Linked DNA regions of Homo sapiens: all the other regions are linked to region 2. Evidence: promoter capture Hi-C in human tissues and cell types (Jung and others, 2019). All regions are on one chromosome and are shown on one strand. The core of a region is centred on a gene start or on the middle of the fragment in contact, and the rest is flanking DNA. Distances in the headings are between cores, read along the strand shown. Region 1 overlaps SRP14-DT (SRP14 divergent transcript). Region 2 holds the start of PLCB2 (phospholipase C beta 2). Region 3 overlaps GPR176 (G protein-coupled receptor 176).

Region 1 (2,700 bases), core at 38-2,537, 260 kb after region 2:
GCTTAGCGTGCAAAAAGACACTTAAAACTTAGGAGATTCCAAGGATTTTAGGAGTTGTATGTCAGGAATGAAGACCTAATTAATACCTGTTTCACAATATCACAGGCACTAACTGCAGGTAGTCAGTGTCAGAATTGACACTGAATCCAATTGCAGGATGCCCCGTTGGTGTCAGAGAATAGTTGTCAGAACATACAAAGAGGACTCTTCCCTAAGATTCACATCACACTCCTTCTCCTGCCTGAAATGGCACTCTGCTCCCCGCAGTAACTAGTCCACTAGTCTGTTTTTCTAAATTCTTTCTTCCCTTCAAAGTCCACCTCCTTCACAGCTTGGTACTAGTGATGCTGTCCTGTAGCCCTTTCTTGCATGTATAACTCCGCACCTCCCACTAGGTAGCATCTGCTTTTGAAGAGAGAGACCTGGGGAAGGCTTGCCCTGGACAAAGGAGTTGCCCGCTAAATGCTCATCGGTGGATAGAAGGGGAAGGCTGCATTGAAGTGAGGAAGGCTGCTGGCCTGGCGAGCATTCCTCAAGAAGAAGCCTCGGCTTCAGGCCTCTCCCCCTCCCTCCTTCCTCTGTTGGCTGTGAGAAGCAGTGTCTTGGGATGGGCCGGGTTTCGGGGCGCTGGATCTGCAGTTCCAGCATCATTGCCCTGACAGTAAATACAAAATTTTGGCATCTTCTCTGCTGCGATTGCCAGGGCTCACCCAGGCCAACACCCGCCCCCTCCCCACACACCACACTCCACACACACACCACACACCCCCACACTCCACACACACATCCCCACCCTCCCCACACACCACACACTCCCCACTCCAGACACACACACCACACCCCCCATACCACACACGCACCATCACCCCACACCCCCTACACACATCCACACACACTACCTCCTTACACACACACACCCACACCGCACCACACACCCCCACACACCACACCCCCCACACACCACATACACCACTGCCCATGCATACCACACCCCCTCACACGCGCACACACACCATGCACACACAAACCCCCCCCACACTACACACTCCTCACACACACACAACCCCCCACACATGCCACATGACACCTCCCCACACACCACACACAACCACACAGACGCACACACCACACCCCACACCACACACACCACCGCCCCCGCACACCACAATCCCCCACACACCACACACTCCTCACACACACCACACCCCCCACACACACCACTCCCCCACACACCACACACCCTCACAACTTCCTCACACTCCCCCTACACACACACACACACACACACACACACACACACACACACAAGGGCTAGACCATGCCTAGCCTATGTCTGCCTCATTTTGGGCCGCAGTTGAAAACCACTAAACATGGCCATAGTCTGGCCTTGTTACTCCTCTCTCCCTTGCTGTTTGGCAAAGGGCCAGTAGAGAACAGTGTGTTCCCCCTTGCACACTTTCTCACCCACCTTCCACCTCACACACTCCACCTTTCCCTGAAGCTGCCTCCAAAAGCCTAGGTTTATGTCTCCTTCAACAGCTCTGACAGAGTCTGGTTGACCCAAGCCATGTGGGTAATTGGTGGGGGCAGACAGCCATGCTACCCATCCCCTCAACACCCTGGAAGATGAGCAGGCAGCAGACAGGTGGGGGCTACACTGGGCTCCTCCTCCCAGGCAGGCCCATGTGAGAGGTTTCACAAAGTGACCTAGAGGCACTTAGGAAGCCCAGGGCCTTCTTCCACATCACTGCCCACGGGGAACTGCTCTGAGTTGCTAGGCCTAGATCTGGCTTCAGAAAAAGCATGGCTCCTGCGTGATCTTTGGGCCTCCACCTTCACTCCTTCTTCCAGCCCCCACCTCCTCTGAAGGCCTCTCTCAGCATATGCTGGGTCTTAGAAGGAGAGAATATTAGCCATTTATACCCTCAGGGAAATTTAAATGGCCATGTTAAGTTTTAGCTGTAACTGGAATGAAAGGCCTGGTCCCCAGTTACAGGAATTGTAAGGAGCAGCTTCAGTGGAAAAGAGGGTTGGGAGGATGGGATGTGTCTTTCCTGGTATTACTGTGACCCACTCCCCATGTTCTGCTTGTCAAGCAATCTGGAAGAATTCTTGCTCTTCCCCACCAAGTGTTGGGCAATCTTCTAGAATACTACCTCTTAAGATATTCTGAGTCCAAATCTCCCAAGATTTTCTCCCAAATCTCTTTATGGTGAGGATCTGGGGAAAACAAAATCCCATCCTATTTCAAGTTCTGAATAGAATACAATTCCATTTTATCTTGCCCTCAATTGGATTCTCATCCTAATTTCTTTCCCAGCTATACTAGCCCCCAAACAGTCATTACAGCAATCCCAAAGTTACCTGACAGCATTGGAGTCTCACATTTAAAACTGGAAGGGACTTTACAGCTCAATCCCAACTCCCCAAGTTACAGAGGAAGAAACTCAAGTCCGGCAAAAAGTGACTTGTCCAAGGTCCCACGCCAATGAGTGGCAGAATTCAGATTAGAACTCAGCACTTCGGCTGCCACTCCAGTGCTGTTTCTGTAAGGCCACAACCACTTCACATCCCCACTCAATTTAGAGTTTGAGGCCTGGAGTTTAGGTACTATTTTTGGAGACATTGTTGGAAGTTCCAGGATGAGGTATTTATGAAGATTCAGTTCTCATTTCCCTCTCCAAAGCTCTTGGCTGGGTA
Region 2 (2,700 bases), core at 41-2,540:
CAGACCTCCAGCCGCGACAATTCTAGGGCCTGGGTGAGGGTCTTACCGTTGTTGGGGGTATGCAAAGCCCCATGGGGGGGTGACCCAGGGCAAAAGGCCAGGCCCCAGAGGGGAAGGAAGTCTTGGGTAGAGCTCCCTGCCTCCCAGGCTGGGCTAAGAAGGGCGATAAGAGGAGCAGATTAGGCAAGAGGAAGTGGGCTGGGCTGAGCTGGACTGGTGCTGAACTCCCTGGGCCTGGGGCAGAGTGTGGGTCAGGCACCTGAGCAGCTGGGGCTGAGCCTGGCCAACCAGAGCAGCCATCCCTCCGCCCCAGCCCCGCTGCAGGCTGGGGTACACAGCAGAGGCGGGCACACGGAGGAGAGAGGAGAGCGCAGTGGAGGCAGGGGCTAGGGCTGCTCAGTGGGGGTCCAGGCCTCAGGCAGTCCCAGAGGCCCAGAGGTGGGAGTCTGGTGAGGTGGGTGAGGGGAGTGATTGCCTTGCCTCATGTGCCCCTCATTTTCTTTCTTTTTTTATTTTTTTCGAGATGGAGTCTTGCTCTGTCGCCCAGGCTGGAGTGCAGTGGCGCCATCTCGGCTCATTGCAAGCTCCGCCTCCTGGGTTCATGCCATTCTCCTGCCTCAGCCTCCCGAGTAGCTGGGACTACAGGCGCCGCTGCCACGCCCAGCTAATTTTTTGCATTTTTAGTAGAGACAGGGTTTCACCGTGTTAGCCAGGATGGTCTCGATCTCCTGACCTCGTGATCCGCCCGCCTCGGCCTCCCAAAGTGCTAGGATTACAGGCGTGAGCCACCGCACCCGCCCGCCCGGCAGGTGCACCTCATTTTCATGGGGGAGGAAGCATTGAGAAAGAGGAGCCGTGTGTTCAGCAAACTTTGCTTATTCAAAACACTCCATTCCAGCTGGGCCCTGTCCCCACCCCACCCCTGCCTCTACGGTGCTCCCAACCTTTGGGGTCAGATGCCCATGCTCTGGACCCTTCCCCTGAGGAGGTCCTTTCTCCTAGTGAGCTCCCTGTGCCTTCCCTCAGTCCAGGCCTGGGCAGCAGTCTCCCCAGCTGGTCTCCATGTCGTCCTTCTCCAGCCCTCCTGGGCCAAATCTGACCAGAGACCACCACAGGGACTGAGAGGCCCTGGCTCCAAGGCGACCCGGCCTCATGACCACGTCTCCGCTGTGAGCAGCGCAGAGAAGGAAGCCCAGAGCAGGAAGTGCTGAGAGGCACAGGGTGGGGCTGGGGGTGGGGGCGGGGGCCTCCAGAAGAGGCGGGGGCTTCCTGCTTCAGCCTCCTTGGGCAGAAGCAGTGACCACAGGCCCCCATGGCAGGCAGGGCGGGTGGGAGGAGGGTGATTTACAAGGCAGATGGGCCTCTGGCTACAGCTCAGTCCTGCACTCAGCCAGGGCCACCCCAGGGGCTATAAGAGCAACTAGATTTCTGGAGCAGCTCGGGGATGGGTGCCATTTGAGCCCAGCTTGGCTCCCCCTCCTGGCTGGCCTCCTTCCTGCCCTTCTGCCTGCCTGTGTCTGCTGAGATTCTGCAAAGAGGAACGCTTGGCACCATGTCTCTGCTCAACCCTGTCCTGCTGCCCCCCAAGGTGAAGGCCTATCTGAGCCAAGGGGAGCGCTTCATCAAATGGGATGATGTAAGTGGGGCAGGGGCCTCAGCTGCTGGAGCACCAGGTGGTGGGGGCCGGGCTGCTACGGGGCTTTGCTTGGGTGGGAGGATTGGTTTATGTCTCCTAGGATCCAGGCGCCTGTGTGGTTTGGCCAGGCAGCTGACACCACTGCTTGGATAAACAAACCTGGGATTAAGGGTGTATGTCCCCAGCTAAAGGGCTAAGCCTTGGTTCTAGGTGTGAGAAGTGGGTGAGCTGCCTGGGTGGTCACTGGAGGTAGTTTATTTGGGTCTGCTTCTCTTCTCCTTCAAACCCCCAAGAGAAGAGGAGGAAAGTGCACCCCAGAGCTGAGGCAGGCTAGGAGGAGAGGTGAGCTCGTCCCCGCTCCCAGCACAGATGTCTTGCCCTTGCTCCGGCAGGGCGCTCAGACCCAGCTCCTTCACCCCCTCCACTGGGCATCATCCTGTCCAGGGAAGCCTTGCTCTCCCCTGCGCTGCTGTGGGGGCAGCCACAAAAGGCCCCTGGACCTAAGTGAGAACTAGAGGCTTCTGCTCCCAGGGAAGGAGCTGATTTGACTTCTGCTACCCCTTGCTGGGCTCAGCATTGCTCCCCGATGCAGGCCTGTCAGCAAGGGAAGGGGAAGACACTGCTGCACCCTGCAGCCCTCTCTCTGCTGTGTCTGTTCCTTCCTACACGGGGCTGCTCCCAGGCTCTGGTTCTCCTGGCCCCTGAAAATGTTACCTTAGGCCAGGGATTCTCTTAGGCTGGAGAGAACAATATGGAGATTCTCCTTCAGGGAGGGGAGGCTGCTGGGCTCGCCCAGTCTGAGAGTTAGAGTGCTGGGCTTGTCCCAGGAAGGGAAATGAAGGCTTGGTGGGGGAGGGAAGACAGCCCTTAGTGCTGACTTGTCCACCTGATGGGAGGTGGGATGAGGGGGTCTGGGTCTAGGCCCTTCGGGGCTGGGCTAGGCTAGGGGATCTCGCTGCCCATGACTATGGGTTGGGGCCCTGTGGTGAGATGCTTCCTGCTTCCCTAGGAGTGATGTGGGGTTGGTGTAGCATGGCAGTGGCATGGAGGTGACATGCCCCAGG
Region 3 (2,700 bases), core at 91-2,590, 420 kb after region 2:
AAGAGGTTTTGCTCATCTATTCTTCTCTACCTCTTCAAAAAGAGGCCCAAGGCAACACTGCTACCTCCCCCTTGGGTTCTGTCTTACTCCATTAAACTCTACAATTATAAATTTGAAGGGATATATACCAGGGTGCCAAATTTAGTATATGGCCTTATGGAAGCCTAGTCAAGCCCAAGCCCAACTCATCCATGGTCTGGTGGACCTCAGCTCCAGCTCAGGTTTCTTACCATTACCAGGCCCAGAGCCATTAACTGGGCTCTGATGGTGAGAAGATTTATGTTTCTGTTTTGTCATGGGCAAAAGGATAGGAGTCAGTAAGGGTTCCTTTGTCTGGGTGATATTGAACACTTGTGTGTGTGTGGTATTTGTAGCTAGAATGAATGAATATTTGCTAAGCAAATAGAGCTTGGCACATAATAAATGCCACAAACCTGTTTAAAAATAAAATAAAAAGTATAATTTACAGTCAAAATCAAAGTATATGATTCTATACTACTCAATTTCAAAGGGCCACTCTCAGAATCTCCATACTTTCCCAGTGGTCTGCGCCTAAGGCGTATCTCCTCAGCCTTCCATTCACCTCTGTTTTGAGATCTTTGTCCTTGGTCTGTTAAGTTTCATAAACTGTAACTTTTGGCAAATGGGAAATGTCCTCACAAAGGAGTCCCTTCAGTTTTCAGTGCAATCTCTTCTATAGTGACCTGCAAAAAACCCGAATTAGAAAATTAGTGTGAATAGGTATTTTTACAAAATAAGTTGGCACTTGCTGAGCTTAATTTTTTCCTGCCTTTATGTTCACAGAAAAGAGACATTGTAAGTCTTAAGGGCAGTGGTGTGCTGGTAAATGTTTAACATCAGGCTCTCTCTAAGAAAACCCAAATTTGTAGTGGTTTGTGATTTTCGTAGGCTCTAAAAAAAGCCAGGCGTGGTGATATTTTCATATCATCATATTGAAAATGATGATCAAAATTTTCATCATTTTGAAATTGGCCATGATGAAAATATCATCATTCAAACTCCCAGTGTGACCTCACTGAAGTGGAGTTGGGCAGATATATGGACATAGGCTCTAAAACACCTCTGCAATAGGCCTTGGGTAGATGGAGAATTGAGGGGATGTGCCTTAGATCTGGCGCTTAGAGAGGCTATGGAGATGCTGAGACTAGCTTTTCTCTGTGTTTTCTTTTGTGCATACATTCATTCTACAAATATTTACTAAGCACCTGCCATGTGCCAAGCATTGCTCTAGGTACTAGGGATATAGTAGGGAACCAAACAAAGTCCTTACCTCCAAGGAGTTTGCGTCCCAGTGAAGGTATTCACAAACTTGCAATTTCACCTCCTTGGGACCCTAGCGTTCTCATATTTGGGACAGTTAGAGTCAAGGTCCCATAACACTTTAATGTTTTGTTTTGTTTTATTTTATTTTATTTTATTTTATTTTATTTTATTTTATTTTATTTTATTTTATTTTATTTTTGAGATGGAATTTTGCTGTTATTGCCCAGGCTGGAGTGCAATGGCACAATCTCAGCTCACTGCAACCTCCACCTCCTGGGTTCAAGTGATTCTCCTGCCTCATTCCCCCAAGTAGCTGGGATTACAGGTGTGCGCCACCATGCCTGGCTATTTTTATATTTTTAGTAGAGATGAAGTTTCTCCATGTTAGTCAGGCTGGTCTCGAATTTCCAACCTCAGGTGATCCACCCACCTCAGCCTCCCAAAGTGTTGGGATTACAGGCGTAAACCACTGTGGCCGGCCAATACTTTAATTTATTAAATGAAGGAAATAGCATGGGCCTATTTTAGTTTTCCTAGTTGTAAAGCAGGGATTATGGAGGAGGAGGTAGAATTGCTCTCTGAATTGTCTCCATCTTGGAGTCACAGAGATCTAAACCTTGCAATGTCAGGAGCACTGGCTTATCTTACATGGGAAACTCATGGTAGATAAAGCTTAGTTAGAAAGTTTGTTGTGTAGATTCTCTGATGCCCTCTCCAGGCTGATAAGGTTCTAACGTAATCTCTGGTGATCAGCCTTTGTCCTTCCTGGATTCCTTTTTAAATAGCTGGTGCCTCAAGGGGGAAAATTGGAGAGCAGGGATGATAAGAGTCTTGCTGGGAGTTCCAGTCCCCTAACTAACCCAGAGGAGGTGACTGTTTATCGCAAACAATTACCTGTCTCATTAAAAGTTATCACAGCTAGAAGCTTATGGAGTGGATAAGCTTCTGGAAATGGAAATTGTGTCTAAGAATCGGGAAGGTTCATATCCTCAAGATGGGTAGGAAAGGGATTGATGAGGCTACTCTGATGGTAGAACTCTGGAGAGAAAGATGATTTACACATTGTAGGGGAAGAAAAAAAATGTTCTCTTTACCTTTCTGAATTCTGGGCTGGGACCCTTGTAACAAAAGGTAGATTAAGAGGAGAAGAATAAGCTGGGCAAGGTGGCTCAAACATGTAATCCCAGCACTTTGGAAGTCCAAGGCAGGAGGATCAGTTGAGGCCAGGAGTTTGAGGTTATGGTGAGTTATGATCACAGCATGGCACTACAGCTTGGGCAACAGAGCAAGAGTCTTAGCCAAGTGTGATGGCCTGTGCCTGTAGTCCTAGCTGCTTGGGGGACTGAGGTGAGAGGATTGCTTGAGCCCAGGAGTTTAAGGATACAGAGAGCTATGATCATGTCGCTACACTCCAGC

Evidence for each region. The method cuts DNA at HindIII sites, captures the fragments that hold promoters and counts their contacts. A contact is called where the count stands out against the background at its distance.
Region 1: a contact is called between a fragment that was not itself captured here and the fragment with the promoter of PLCB2 in region 2, in 2 of the 25 tissues and cell types used here (lymphoblastoid cells and mesenchymal stem cells).
Region 3: a contact is called between a fragment that was not itself captured here and the fragment with the promoter of PLCB2 in region 2, in 1 of the 25 tissues and cell types used here (lymphoblastoid cells).

What each region holds. Positions count from the first base shown.
Region 1 is chr15:40,049,057-40,051,756 of GRCh38, reverse strand. All of the region lies in intron 2 of SRP14-DT (SRP14 divergent transcript), which reads right to left. Among named protein-coding and RNA genes, the nearest start is that of SRP14-DT, 11 kb to the right of the region's middle. The HindIII fragment of the contact is 7,633 bases long and covers 1-2,700 here.
Region 2 is chr15:40,306,525-40,309,224 of GRCh38, reverse strand. PLCB2 (phospholipase C beta 2) reads left to right here and starts at 1,290. Exons shown (of 32, transcript NM_004573.3): 1 at 1,290-1,636. The coding sequence starts at 1,553. The HindIII fragment of the contact is 11,638 bases long and covers 1-2,700 here.
Region 3 is chr15:39,888,331-39,891,030 of GRCh38, reverse strand. The region is part of intron 1 of GPR176 (G protein-coupled receptor 176); the gene reads left to right. Among named protein-coding and RNA genes, the nearest start is that of GPR176, 31 kb to the left of the region's middle. The HindIII fragment of the contact is 5,143 bases long and covers 1-2,700 here.